Regions from separate parts of the Homo sapiens genome. Here regions 2 and 3 are each linked to region 1. The links are contacts of gene promoters, found by promoter capture Hi-C in blood cells and fetal thymus (Javierre and others, 2016). All regions are on one chromosome and are shown on one strand. Each heading gives the region's core, a stretch centred on a gene start or on the middle of the fragment in contact. The rest is flanking DNA. Distances are from core to core; before and after follow the strand shown. Region 1 holds the start of TRAPPC3L (trafficking protein particle complex subunit 3L). Region 2 holds the start of ZUP1 (zinc finger containing ubiquitin peptidase 1). Region 3 holds the start of CALHM6-AS1 (CALHM6 antisense RNA 1).

The links. The method cuts DNA at HindIII sites, captures the fragments that hold promoters and counts their contacts. A CHiCAGO score of 5 or more calls a contact.
Region 2: a contact is called between the fragment with the promoter of ZUP1 here and the fragment with the promoter of TRAPPC3L in region 1, in 10 of 17 cell types (fetal thymus, non-activated CD4 T cells, total CD4 T cells and 7 more). The highest score is 7.2, in fetal thymus.
Region 3: a fragment that was not itself captured here is called in contact with the fragment with the promoter of TRAPPC3L in region 1 in 4 of 17 cell types (naive B cells, total B cells, monocytes and 1 more); the score reaches 11.0 in naive B cells.

What each region holds. Positions count from the first base shown.
Region 1 is chr6:116,543,324-116,547,470 of GRCh38, forward strand. TRAPPC3L (trafficking protein particle complex subunit 3L) reads right to left here and starts at 2,361. Exons shown (of 5, transcript NM_001139444.3): 1 at 2,150-2,361; 2 at 1-77. The coding sequence starts at 2,191. It also overlaps a transcript of CALHM4 not described here. The HindIII fragment of the contact is 9,007 bases long and covers 1-3,864 here.
Region 2 is chr6:116,666,530-116,670,676 of GRCh38, forward strand. It overlaps ZUP1 (zinc finger containing ubiquitin peptidase 1), which reads right to left and starts at 2,237. Exons shown (of 10, transcript NM_145062.3): 1 at 2,037-2,237; 2 at 105-678. The coding sequence starts at 663. RefSeq lists a silencer at 1,161-1,310 and an enhancer at 2,072-2,261. The HindIII fragment of the contact is 3,066 bases long and covers 1,993-4,147 here.
Region 3 is chr6:116,463,018-116,467,164 of GRCh38, forward strand. CALHM6 (calcium homeostasis modulator family member 6) reads left to right here. Exons shown (of 3, transcript NM_001010919.3): 3 at 266-754. The coding sequence ends at 688. It overlaps CALHM6-AS1 (CALHM6 antisense RNA 1), which reads right to left and starts at 687. Exons shown (of 2, transcript NR_174951.1): 1 at 602-687. The HindIII fragment of the contact is 176 bases long and covers 1,288-1,463 here.

The DNA of each region.
Region 1 (4,147 bases), core at 1,111-3,610:
ACATCTTCATCCTTCTCATAATCCTTACACAGCTGGGCAACCAGAGCTCCATAGGTAAGGACAAAGAGATCTTTATTCTGGAGAAAAAGGGGTAGTTTCTGGTTATAGGCAAGTTATGACAGTATACTACTGTATTTCTTTTGTTTATAAAATCTGGTTTGAAGTAGCCTTAGAAGTCACCTGTACATTTTTTCCTTCCTCCTATTATTGCAACAATTTGCACTTTTGAAAACAAATTATATTCACATTTGGATACATTGATGTGAGGTGGGGGAGAGAGAGCTGTTAAATAAAATGAATTTCGTAACATGATAACATCTTTCTATGCATTTGCTTACATGATAACTTGCAATGTATTTTCATGGAGGACAGTTTTTTAAAAATACTAATTTCTAACATAAATTTCTGTTTTTCTAAAATATATGCCATCCATGTTTTCAGTTGGAAGCAAGAATTGGATAAGACTTCTCAGGCGTCTGCACAATCCCTAATGGCCCCCAGATCTGCCAAGGAGACCTTCAGGATAAACCCAAATGTAGCAGCAAATTTGTGAGTTTCTTTTCTTTTTACTTAGAGAAAAAAGGGGAATGTGATATTTCCTTATAGTTCTCCAAAATATGTCCCATTTTTAGAGTAAATTATAAATGAAAACTAAAACTTAAGACAATTTAGGTTTGGCTTAGGGTTTTTCCAAGAACCTAATAATAAATCACAAGAAATGCTGGTAAATTATCAATGAAAAGTCTGCTCAACATATAAGAGCCACAGCAGAAGACAAAGTGCTGCCATGTACTAATGCTACAGCATAAAGATAAGCAAAGGTGAAGAAGAGAGAGAGAGAGAGAGAGAGAGAGAGAGAATGATGAGATTGTTGTGACTAGCAGTAAAACAAAAGAATTTGAAAAAGAGAAAAGTAGAAAAAATCATACCCTACCTACATGCCATGGCCCCAACATTGTGTCCCTTTATAATTAAGGCCAAACTGAAATAGTGGAATTTCTTCTCTGTCCCTGATGGGTGGGCACTATTATATATTGAAATCTATTTTATTTCCAGCTGAGTTTCTGGTTCAGTACCCATAAAGGCCAGCTTTCTCTATTCTGCTTCATGGCCAAGGACTGTACCTTGAACTATCTGTTCAATTGGGTCTCAAATCCATACCACAGATGCCAGGAAAGGTCAACATAAGTTTATCTTTATCGTTTTTAAAACAATAAAAATAATCATATGAATATCTGAAAGAACATCATTAACTATTTCAGTAGGTTATGAATGTATCAGGATAAAAATACATTTTAACTGCTTTATAAAATCAAGTGATTTCGGTATAATATGAACTATGTACCATATATTTTTAGCACTTGAGAGTCCCACAGGAAAATAAATCAAGATCCCAGAAGGCCAGAGGAGGTATCTGCAGGCATTTCAAACTGAAGTATGCTAGTTAGTCACTACAATTCTAAACACCAAGTCTGAAATTACTTAATTATATCAAATGCCCATCAGTCTCCTGACATAATTAACAGAATTTTAAAGTTAACAGTGAGTTTTTGTATCTGTAGTATCTGAGTGACTAAAACTATAAGAGAGTATTAAAGAATATTATTTAAAACTAATCTGCAAAAAAATAAGGTTTATAAATAACTCTTAACCTGGAATATATAGAAAGGATGATATTACATACCAAGCTACAATAAGACTAGGAAACATTTTTAAAGGCAATCCTTTTTTGATGACCTATTTCGATTCAGTTTTACACATAATCAACTATATATATACACACATATATATATACATACATACATATATATACATATACATATATATGTAAGTTCCCATTTCCTGAAGTATGAAATAGAAAAAATTGCTAATATTTTCATATTTTCTGTCAGAGGTGAAAAAATTGACACTCATATTGATATAATTAGTCAGAAAAGAAGACCTTAAAGTGTGTATAAAGAATTGATTATTCTTTATGTAGGAGATAATCATAATTATTCCTAGATGTGTCATTTATGATTCACTTCGCTGAACACTGTCTTTCCTCCACTAAAAATTCTTATAGCATCAGTTTTTAAAATCAATCAGAAATCACTCAAGAAAACATTTTCTCTGAAGTAGAAAAAATCTCTTTGTAGAAAGATCTTACTATTTTATGGTATTCTGGTCTTCGGTGTGCAGGGCGAGACATAGTGCTTGATAGATGAAGAATATGATCTTCAATTTCTCTTCTTTTGCCTGTTTCTTAGAGGTGTATCAGTCCATGTCTTTTTGTTTTGTTTTTGTAAGCTCTTCCTCGCTTTGAGACAGGAGTGCTGCTTCTGCACTCTGCTGCTTTTGCTCTTTGCTGAGCTGAAGAGGGAAAAAAACCATGAACAACAGGATTGTCTTATAGCCACGTAACTTGCCATGGATCAAATAACTGCTTCATTTGTAAGGATGAATTGTAATCTAGAGCCATAAAAGCTGATAATGTGAAGTCAGACCTGAAGCACTGCAACTCAAAAAATTCTTTAGCCCGAGGGAGTTCAAGAGTGGTGTTTTGTTCTCAGGCCAAGACATTGTTTTAAAATCAGAAACAGAAACCTTCGCAATCCAAGATAGATCTAAATGTTAGCATTATTCAGTCTTGGATTGATTGTTGTAAGAATTAGAGAGACAAGATCAGCAATCTGTAGGTAATAAATCCTGAGTTAAAACGTGATCCCTCAACTACACCAATGGTTATCACACTGTCCCCAAAACCATAGATCCCTATCTTGTGTGATTACAGTATTCAAATATATCTGGTAACTTTTTTGCTTTTCATTAGCAGCAATCAACAACATTAAGGAGTGATAGAATGGGCAATATTTTCTTACAAAACTGTTGTTCAAAATGGGCGCTCTACAGTATCATAATGTATAATGATTCTGATAGAGAAAGTAAGCCCTTAGCTTTCTTTTGAGAGCTCCTGAGACGTAAGCTATTGAAGGCTCTCTTTATTTACGCAGAAATACTTAAAGTTCAAATAAAAAAATCCTTTCACCTTGACAACTGCAGGGTGCAGAGTAGGATCAAAATCTTTCCAGAAATGGAAGCGGAAAACTCAGTTTAGGAAAGTAATTTTCTTCTACTTATAGTTTGAGTCCATTAGTCCTATTTGTTCTGGAAAATTCTTGCTATAAAGTGACAAACTCAAGAATACTTTGACGAAAAGTGTGGTGTAGTTGAAAGAACCTAGGAGGATTTGGAAGGCTCAGGCTGTTGCAGCCCTACCATTTACTGGCTGTGTGGCATTGGGCAAGCCATTTTATTGCTCTATGACTCAGTTTCCACATTTGCAAAATGGCAACAATATCACTCACCTCACAGAATAATTGTGAGAACCAAAGAGACGAGGCGTACCGTAAAACACATTAAAATGCACCATATAATAACTAGTTACTATAGGTTATTCTTGTGGTTGGATAAATTGAATGGAATTCTACAATACCTAAGGCATTTCCATCACTGCATATGTTCTATGACACTATGATCTCAGGAAAATTAATTTCACTTAGTTGTGGGGTATGGGGTGGAGAGTTTTTCAGTAGCAAATAATAACGACTTATATGTATATCAAATTTACAGTTTACAACATGGTTTTCGTTCTCTTCATCTCATTTTAATTCAGATACAATCTGTGAAATAGTACTGTAATCATGGCCATTTTACAGGATAAGAATCTAAAAGTAGAGAGGTTGAGAAATGTATTCAAGGTTATCTGGATGTTGGCAACAAGAAGGGATTTGGGCTAATTTTGATGATTCCAAGTCAAATTTATTTTGTACCGCACACACTCTAATTATGTTAGAGCAAACTATTTTAGAGGCAGACTCAAAAAGCTTACTAAGGTGCAGGGACAGCATGTTGCTGGGTCAATTTGTGGGCAATCCTAGTTCTGAGTAAGATACCCCAGAGAATAACCTACAAAGGGCCTGTGTGCTTGCTGCGAGGTGATGGCGGTACTGGAATCAATTTCACCAAACTCTAATGGCTGTGGTATGGTCACATTATGGCCATCGGGAGAATTCGGGATGTCATTGGATGTATTAGAAAAAGCCGGCTTTTACTTCAGACTGACATGGCTCCCCTCTGCTCCATTGACCTTCCAGTCAAGACACGA
Region 2 (4,147 bases), core at 987-3,486, 120 kb after region 1:
TCAAAACACATCTGTAGTAAGCTGACTTACAAACCAACTTTTAAAATACCACATATTAAATTGAGGCTGTAAACTTATAATTTATAATGAAATGAAAACTTTACCTTCCAATGGAATGTCTAAAAGATTGGCATGCTTTGTTTTCACATGAGTTTCCATATCTTCACTGTGCTCCTCTATTTTTCCACAGAATGGACATTCAGGAGGACTGTATGTTGTTTCATAAACAGATCCTTTTATTTCGGTCAGGCTGGACTGTTTTTCCCTACTTTTCAGGAATTTTCTAGATTCAGTTAAGTTCTCTGAATAGAAGCCTTCATGTTTTAAAGTACTATCTTTAGTCAGGTTTTGAGCTGAATTTTTTGGATGATTAGATGCACAACCTGAAAGAATACTTGAATTAACTTCCATTCCACACTGTAGGGTGTTGTCTTTCTTGTTATCTGAAGTTCCATATTGTACTGTATTTATCCTCTCAAAGTTTCTTTCAAGTGTATTCTGCTCAAAATGAGCTGTTTCGATATGAAAACACATTTCATCATAATTCACACCTGACAACTTGCAAAATGGACATATAATTTCACTTTCCATGTGAACAATTAGGTGAGCTTTCATGTCTGGTTCTGAGGTTACTGTTTCACCACAAATATTACAGGAAAGCATGGTATTGACAAGTAGCTAGAAAAGAACATAACATTAGGTTTCAAAGATTTGAAGAAAAAATGTGTTTCATAAAATGATTTGAGACAATTACTTGGTCTTTAACGCTGGATTATTTTGATGAAGAAGTTTTCAATGTACTTACTGTTCCTCAAATACAAAAACTTATTTATAAATATCAACCAAAATTTCATTTATTTTTTTTTAAAAAAAGGCAATAATAATGAATACAAGTAATTTTAAAAATAAAATATTTCAAAAAATGTCTCTGGCCCAAGGTGGAGAAAAAATAACGTTTAAAAAATTGTCCAGGTAAGATAAATCAGGTAAGAAAAAAATGAAGAGAAGAAACCTATTTATCAACTGATATATCTAAATACTGAATACTGAAGCTGATTATATTGAGGAGGTAAATAAACACATCTTACAAGTAGAGTTTAACACTGTAAACTTAGAGTCTTACATGTATCAAGTGCTATTTAAGTGCTATTATTGTAATTTAAGTACTATTATTATCGCTCTACACATAAAGAAATTCTGGCTCAGACAGGTCACCACAAGCAGAAAAAGGTGGAAGCCAAAATGCCAACCCCGTCGTGCTCCACAGCCTGTACTCTCAGCCCCAAGAATAAAAGCAGAAGTGGTATAGTAGAAAAAAGCACTTATTCCAGAGTCAAGAGAACTGGGTAATAATTTCAGATTCATCATTTTGGGTAAGGAATCTCATCTCTCTGAGGTTCAGTCAAAGACTACTGTAAAATCCAAAGGTAGTTATTTTTGGATTTTATGGACAAATAAAGTACTGACTACTGACATAAAAGTGTTAAAAAAATAATTTTAAAAAAAGCAATCACTTCGCCACCACCTTCCTACTACAGGTCATCGTTCAGCTAAAGACTATTTAAAATCAAACAGGAAAAGTAATGACACTATCACTTCATTTAAATAAATTTACCTTTAAAATACCTCCCTACATTGTCCTTATTTTTTTCATTTCTCTCCAGACAAATGGATACAGTCTCTGATTTTAGAAGGCAGTTCTCCCGAGCCCCCAGTGGGATTAATGTCACACCCGGAGTTTCTTCTCTTCCGGTGGCTGGGACACGGTCAGACACAGAATGATGAACTTGGACATGGACTCAGATTAAGCGGGTAAGAGACAAGAGAGTACCCAGGTGCCTCAGAGGAAGCGAGTGAGAGGCATGAAGGACCCAGTGCCAAGCTAGGTACGTGGTGGGTGAGGTCAGAAGACCGCAAGGCCGAGTCTCCCAAACGTTCCGCGCCAAAGGCACAAGCCAGGCACACGAAACTAGCAGGCACTAACTGGGTCAAAGCTTTGGGCCTGGGGAATAAGGGAGGGGACCATCAATTCTTACCGGCCCAGAGGCCAGCAGCTGCCACACTGAGCTCCGCTAGGCTTCCCCTTTGGGCCTCGCTGGCAGACGAGTGCGTGCGCGGCGTCCAGTACCTCTCCTGGCCTGATGACTGAGGCCAGGCCTTCCCAATACGCAGAGTTTCACAGTTAACCGAGGAAAGAATTAGGAACTTCCAACACCTTGGCCCTCAGTACCTCATTCAAAAGCACTTCCTTACTCCCACGGAAAAGAAGTAATCCCAGAATGCGCCGCTCCACGCCGGTCTCTATGCAGTGCATTCTGGGAGATGTAGTCTTTTTTTTTTTTTTTTTTTTTTGAGACGGAGTCTCGCTCTGCTGCCCAGGCTGGAGGGCAGTGCGCGATCTCGGCTCACTGCAAGCTCCGCCTCCCGGGTTCACGCCATTCTCCTGCCTCAGCCTCCCGAGTAGCTGGGACTACAGGCGCCCGCCACCATGCCTGGCTAATTTTTTGTATTTTTAGTAGAGACGGGGTTTCACCGTGTTAGCCAGGATGGTCTCGATCTCCTGAGAGATGTAGTCATTTTTGCATTCCTCCCATTTCCGAGTTTTTCCTTCTCCCATCGAGTTTCCTGCCACTCAATTGCTAGGAGAGAAAACCGGGCTCTGAGGTCATTCATACTTAATCTGAATGAGTTCACAGGGCAGGTCCTGGGGCAAATAGCAGTCTACACTAGGGCCTGCTGAGTAGCACTCTATTTTAGTATCAATAAAGGGTTTATAATGCTGCTAGGTATCAAGCTCCCAGCTATGCACCGAAGGTAAAGGATACCAGGTTCTTTCCTCAAGGTTACAAGATAACAAATATCTTGGTTTGTATGTATGTATGTATGTATATATATATATTTTTTGAGACGGAGTCTTGCTCTGTCGCCCAGGCTGGAGTGCAGTGGTGCCATCTCTGCTCACTGCAAGCTCCGCCTCCCGGGTTCACGCCATTCTCCTGCCTCAGCCTCCCAAGTAGCTGGGACTACAGGCGCCCGCCACCACGTCTGACTAATTTTTTGTATTTTTAGTAGAGATGGGGTTTCACCGTGTTATCCCGGATGGTCTCGATCTCCTGACCTCGTGATCCGCCCCCCTCGGCCTCCCAAAGTGCTGGGATTACAAGCGTGAGCCACCGTGCCCGGCCGTATGTATGTATTTTTAGAGAGGAGGACTCTTTCTGTCACCCAGGCCAGAGCACAGTGGCTAAAATAGCTCACCGCAGCCTCGAACTCCTGGCCTCAAATGATCCTCCCATCTCGGCCTCCCAAAGTGTGAGCCACCATGTTAGCCCAAAATCACAAATATCTTGTCATTCAGGCTTTATTTCATTCAACAAATATTTAAAGAGTGTCTATTAGAAAGGCGTTTTGCTTGCAACAGGAGCTGCAGCAGTAATCAAAATACACAAAATTCAGGATTTTTGAGGCTTACATGCTGGTGAGGTAGAGGAAATAAAAAGTAAATTAACTGATCATGATAAGTGCTATGAAGAAAATAAAACTGGATTGGCCAGGCTCAGTGGCTCACATATGTAATCCCAGCACTTTGGGAGGCCGAGGCGGGCAGATCATTTGAGGTCAGGAGTTCAAGACCAGCCTGGCCAACATGGTGAAAGCCCGTCTCTACTAGAAATACAAAAATTAGCTGGGCGTGGTGGCAGGTGCCTGTAATCCCAGCTACTCGGGAGGCTGAGGCAGGAGAATTGCTTGAACCCGGGAGGCGTAGGTTGCAGCGAGCTGAGATCGTGCCACTACACTCCAGCCTGAGTGACAGAGCAATAGATTTTTGAGACTGAGTCTCAAAAAAAAAAAAAAAAAAAGAAAGAAAGAAAGAAAAGAAAACTGGATTATAGAGATACGAATGTTTAGAAAAGGTCTTGATGAAGGGTTGAGTGTGCTGATGAACAAACCTTACACCAACAGGGGAAATAGCATTTCAGACAGATAAAATAACAAGAACGAAGGCCTAAGGCTGGAGCAAAAAGAACACTTTTTGACCAGAGCATAATGTGGTAAGGAGAAAAATGATTACAAGATGAGGTTAGGGTTGTAGACAGGGGCCAAATCATGTAGGACCTGGTAGAAAACTAGTGAGGTATTTAAATAG
Region 3 (4,147 bases), core at 126-2,625, 81 kb before region 1:
TTTTGAGTTCTAAGGGAATGGTATGGGCTCCTCCCTGGGCAGAATCATAGTGCATAACTTGGACTACAGTTGACTTTCCAAACGAGAAGTTGTACTGGGGGGCTAGGGAGGTTACTGCGACACCTTACTCTTAAGGAATTAAGACCTAAAACTGTTGCTTGTTCATCATCATAACTGGCGAGTAGTTGAAACTTTATCTGAGGATTTTTAAATTTCTTGTAAAAAACCAAGTAACTAAATTACTATTTTGTTGTGTTTTCTTAAGGTGTTGGGCTGGATCTTGATAGCAGTTGTTATCATCATTCTTCTGATTTTTACATCTGTCACCCGATGCCTATCTCCAGTTAGTTTTCTGCAGCTGAAATTCTGGAAAATCTATTTGGAACAGGAGCAGCAGATCCTTAAAAGTAAAGCCACAGAGCATGCAACTGAATTGGCAAAAGAGAATATTAAATGTTTCTTTGAGGGCTCGCATCCAAAAGAATATAACACTCCAAGCATGAAAGAGTGGCAGCAAATTTCATCACTGTATACTTTCAATCCGAAGGGCCAGTACTACAGCATGTTGCACAAATATGTCAACAGAAAAGAGAAGACTCACAGTATCAGGTCTACTGAAGGAGATACGGTGATTCCTGTTCTTGGCTTTGTAGATTCATCTGGTATAAACAGCACTCCTGAGTTATGACCTTTTGAATGAGTAGAAAAAAAAATTGTTTTGAATTATTGCTTTATTAAAAAATAAACATTGGTATTTTTTGAGTGCTTTTTTTCTTCCAAATTGTGGAATTTTATATCTGAAATTAAAATATAGAGCTTAACCTCTTTATAATATTATTTAAAACAAACAAAAAAAGAAAGTGATTCATCCAAAGTAAAAGCTAGAACTAAAAGAAGTCTTATATCCTTGTTCTAGAGTCCTTTTCAAATAAAAGACTTTTGGAGCAAAAACAGTGGCAGAACAATTGAACTTCAGACATTTCTGTTAGGTTATCTGATGTTAATTTCAAGTTCATTTTCTTGCCCACAACATCTTGTTAGGAACTTTAAAATTACGGCATTCTAGCTGGTTCTATAGCACAATTGATGGCACATTGGGCTTCTAGTCGAGCCTGCTGTGGTCATTCAAAAATTAGAGCATTTTATGACTCTAATAGGGTTACAATAATAAATTAATCATGAAAAGGAAAATAAACTTTGTAAAATACGAAATTTGAAAAAGTAGTTAAGAGAATTGCAGGCAACAAGTGTTGTTTTTAGTTTATAGGATCAGAGGAAAAGTGTTAAAGCTTATATGTTATGGTAAATATAAACTAAACACAAAAGTAGAGAGGATAGTTTTATGAGCCTCCAAGTAGTTGTTACACAGCTTCAACAGAGTTGGGAAGTCAGATAAAACCAATACCAAACAAATAAATGCAAATTGTGACCTGATTTAGATTAGGGGAGAAGGGATTTGGGGAAGCTTTTTAAAAACTGAATCCTGTAGGGTAGCAAGAAGGAGCATTTCAGTCATACAGATAAAACCAATACCATACAAAGAAATGCAAATTGTGACCTGATTTAGATTAGGGGAGAAGGGATTTGAGGAAACTTTTTGAAAACTGAATCCTGTAGGGTAGCAAGAAGGAGCATTTCAGTCCTACTGAAGGAACAGTATGTGCAAAGACTAGGGAGAAAAAGATGTTAGCAGAGTTGGAAACCTGAAAGGCGACTGAAAAAAATGAGCAAGGGACTGAGTGTGCAGTGCCTGGAAACCATGAGAAGGATTTTGGTTTTCATCATATGAGCATTTTAGGAAGATGGTTTGCTTTCCTTGAGAGAAAAGGAATGACATGGGAAGCAGGAGAGCCAGGGTAGAAGGAGAGAGACTAATCAGGAGGCCACTACAGTGGAAATAGGTGGGAGTGAACTTGAACTGAGTGGATGGGGACCAAAATGGAAAAAGTAGATAGATTCAAGGTAGACTTTGTACATAGATGTGGCAGGATTTGTTGATAGAAAGTCTCTAAAGACGGTGAGAGCAATTATATCTACGGATAAAATTCTGTAACTTTATAATGCCGGGACTTTTCAGCGATCCTTGCCTTCCATTAGCTTGTCATTCCTGCCCATTCCCCAAATTTGTGGCTGTTTTCTGAATTTTAAAATATGAGATAAAAAAACTTTAAACTATAAAATAATTGAGCACTGGTCATATTTAGCCCTTCTTCCTCTTTTGGCAGAAGCTTATGCTGATTTCTGTTTACCTTTTTCTGCATAAGGCCGTTAAAAAGAACTAACCTACAGGGCAGAATATCCTGTTGTTGAGAGTCATGCGTAACAAGAAAGTTGGCAGCAGAAACAGCGTGATCAGCTTTTTTTCATTCCCTAAAAGAATGCTTTTGAAAATCATATCATACCTAGTTTCATTTTTACTTCCTTTATTTCATTTTCCAATTGCTGCTTCCTTTTTCGTCTGAGACAGGATCTCACTCTGTCACCCAGGCTGGAGTGTAGTGGCAAGATCTTGGCTCACCGCAAACTCTGCCTCCCTGACTCAAGTGATCCTCCCACCCCAGCCTCCTGAGTAACTGGGACCACAGGCATGTGCCACCATGCCCAGCTAATTTTTGTACTTTTTGTAGAAATGGGGTTTCACCATGTTGCCCAGGCTGGTCTCGAACTCCTGGGCTCAAGCAATCTGCTTGCCTCAGCCTCAAAGTGCTGGGATTACAGATGTGAGCCACTGCGCCCAGCCTCCAATATCTTTTTGTATATTCTTTCCTTTCAAAACTTTTTTTATGTTCTATCACTTATACTTGCATCTTCAGTAGTATCATATTGTCTCCATTGTTTTGATTTATGCTCCACCTCCTCTTGCACAGTCCTTAATAATTATTGTGAAAATATATATGCTTAAGAAAATAATTGTAATGGTAGAGAATGGTGAGAAGTAAAATAAAATTACCTCATTCCTTTGCAATATATTCTTCTCAGAAGTAGCCATGTATAAACTCTGTGTCTGCATAAACTCTATCATAAGTGTTGTTCTGTAACTTTTACACATAAAGTACAATTATTCCATGTCAGTATCTGACAATTTACCTCATTTAAAAAATTGCTACTTAGTATTTTACTGGTTAGTAGGATATTATCCCTTTTTTGTTAACCCCACCGACCAGCCCCCACACACATGCACACACATTCATAAAGTGTAGAAAGGTAAGCACTAAATTATCAAATGTGGTCCCTTCTGAGGACTAAGATTGGTGCAGGAATTTTTTTTAATTTCATGCACTTTTGATCTTTGGAGTTGTTGTAATGAATAATAAATATTAAATGTATAATTGGAAATTTTTAAAAAGTAACCTTACCCTGGTGTAGAGTTTTACAGTCAAAAAAGCAGTTTTGCATCTTTTATTTCATTTCATTTTAACAAGTTTCCAGGTTACCCGTGAAACACCTCACTCACATTTACAAATGGGAATCGAAAGTTAAAGAGGTTACATCATTAATCCAAAGTTACATGTCAATAAAGGCAAAACCAAAGGTAGGGTACGGATCCTCCCTAGATGATGTAGTTTAATGTGGCCACTGGCTGTTTTTATTACTGGGTCAGATTTTTCCCTTCCTAGCCCATGTGACTTTGTGGGCAGAAGAGATACAGATCTCCTTAGTGACCCTCAATATTTGACGTTTTATCTTGAAACTCAGCAACTACTAACAGGAAAGACCACTTTGAATAAACATGGTGAGACTGAGACACAGTAAGTTATTTCTTGGTGGGAACAAGGTCACTGCTATTTGGCAGAAGTCACCACTCCTCTGGGCCTGGCCCAAACAGGCTGCATCATTGGCTGAAGAAGCATTTCTACACTCAGTATGTATTTATTTGCTGGTTTACCAAATGATTCTTCATCATCACCCCCAGCTTTATGCTATCCTGAACACCTAACCTTTAAAGAGATTCAGATGCAGAATCTGCTATTAATATTTGCTGAAAAACAACCACATTGTTATAAGAGATGATTCTACGTTGTATCGAGTACTGGCAAGATAATAACAAGGCATAAGATTAAGAATGGTCTCCTTGCTTTATCCAAAGCCATGGCTAGAAATATCAATGCTCAATGAACTGACTAAAGAAGCAAGTCCTAAGGGGAGT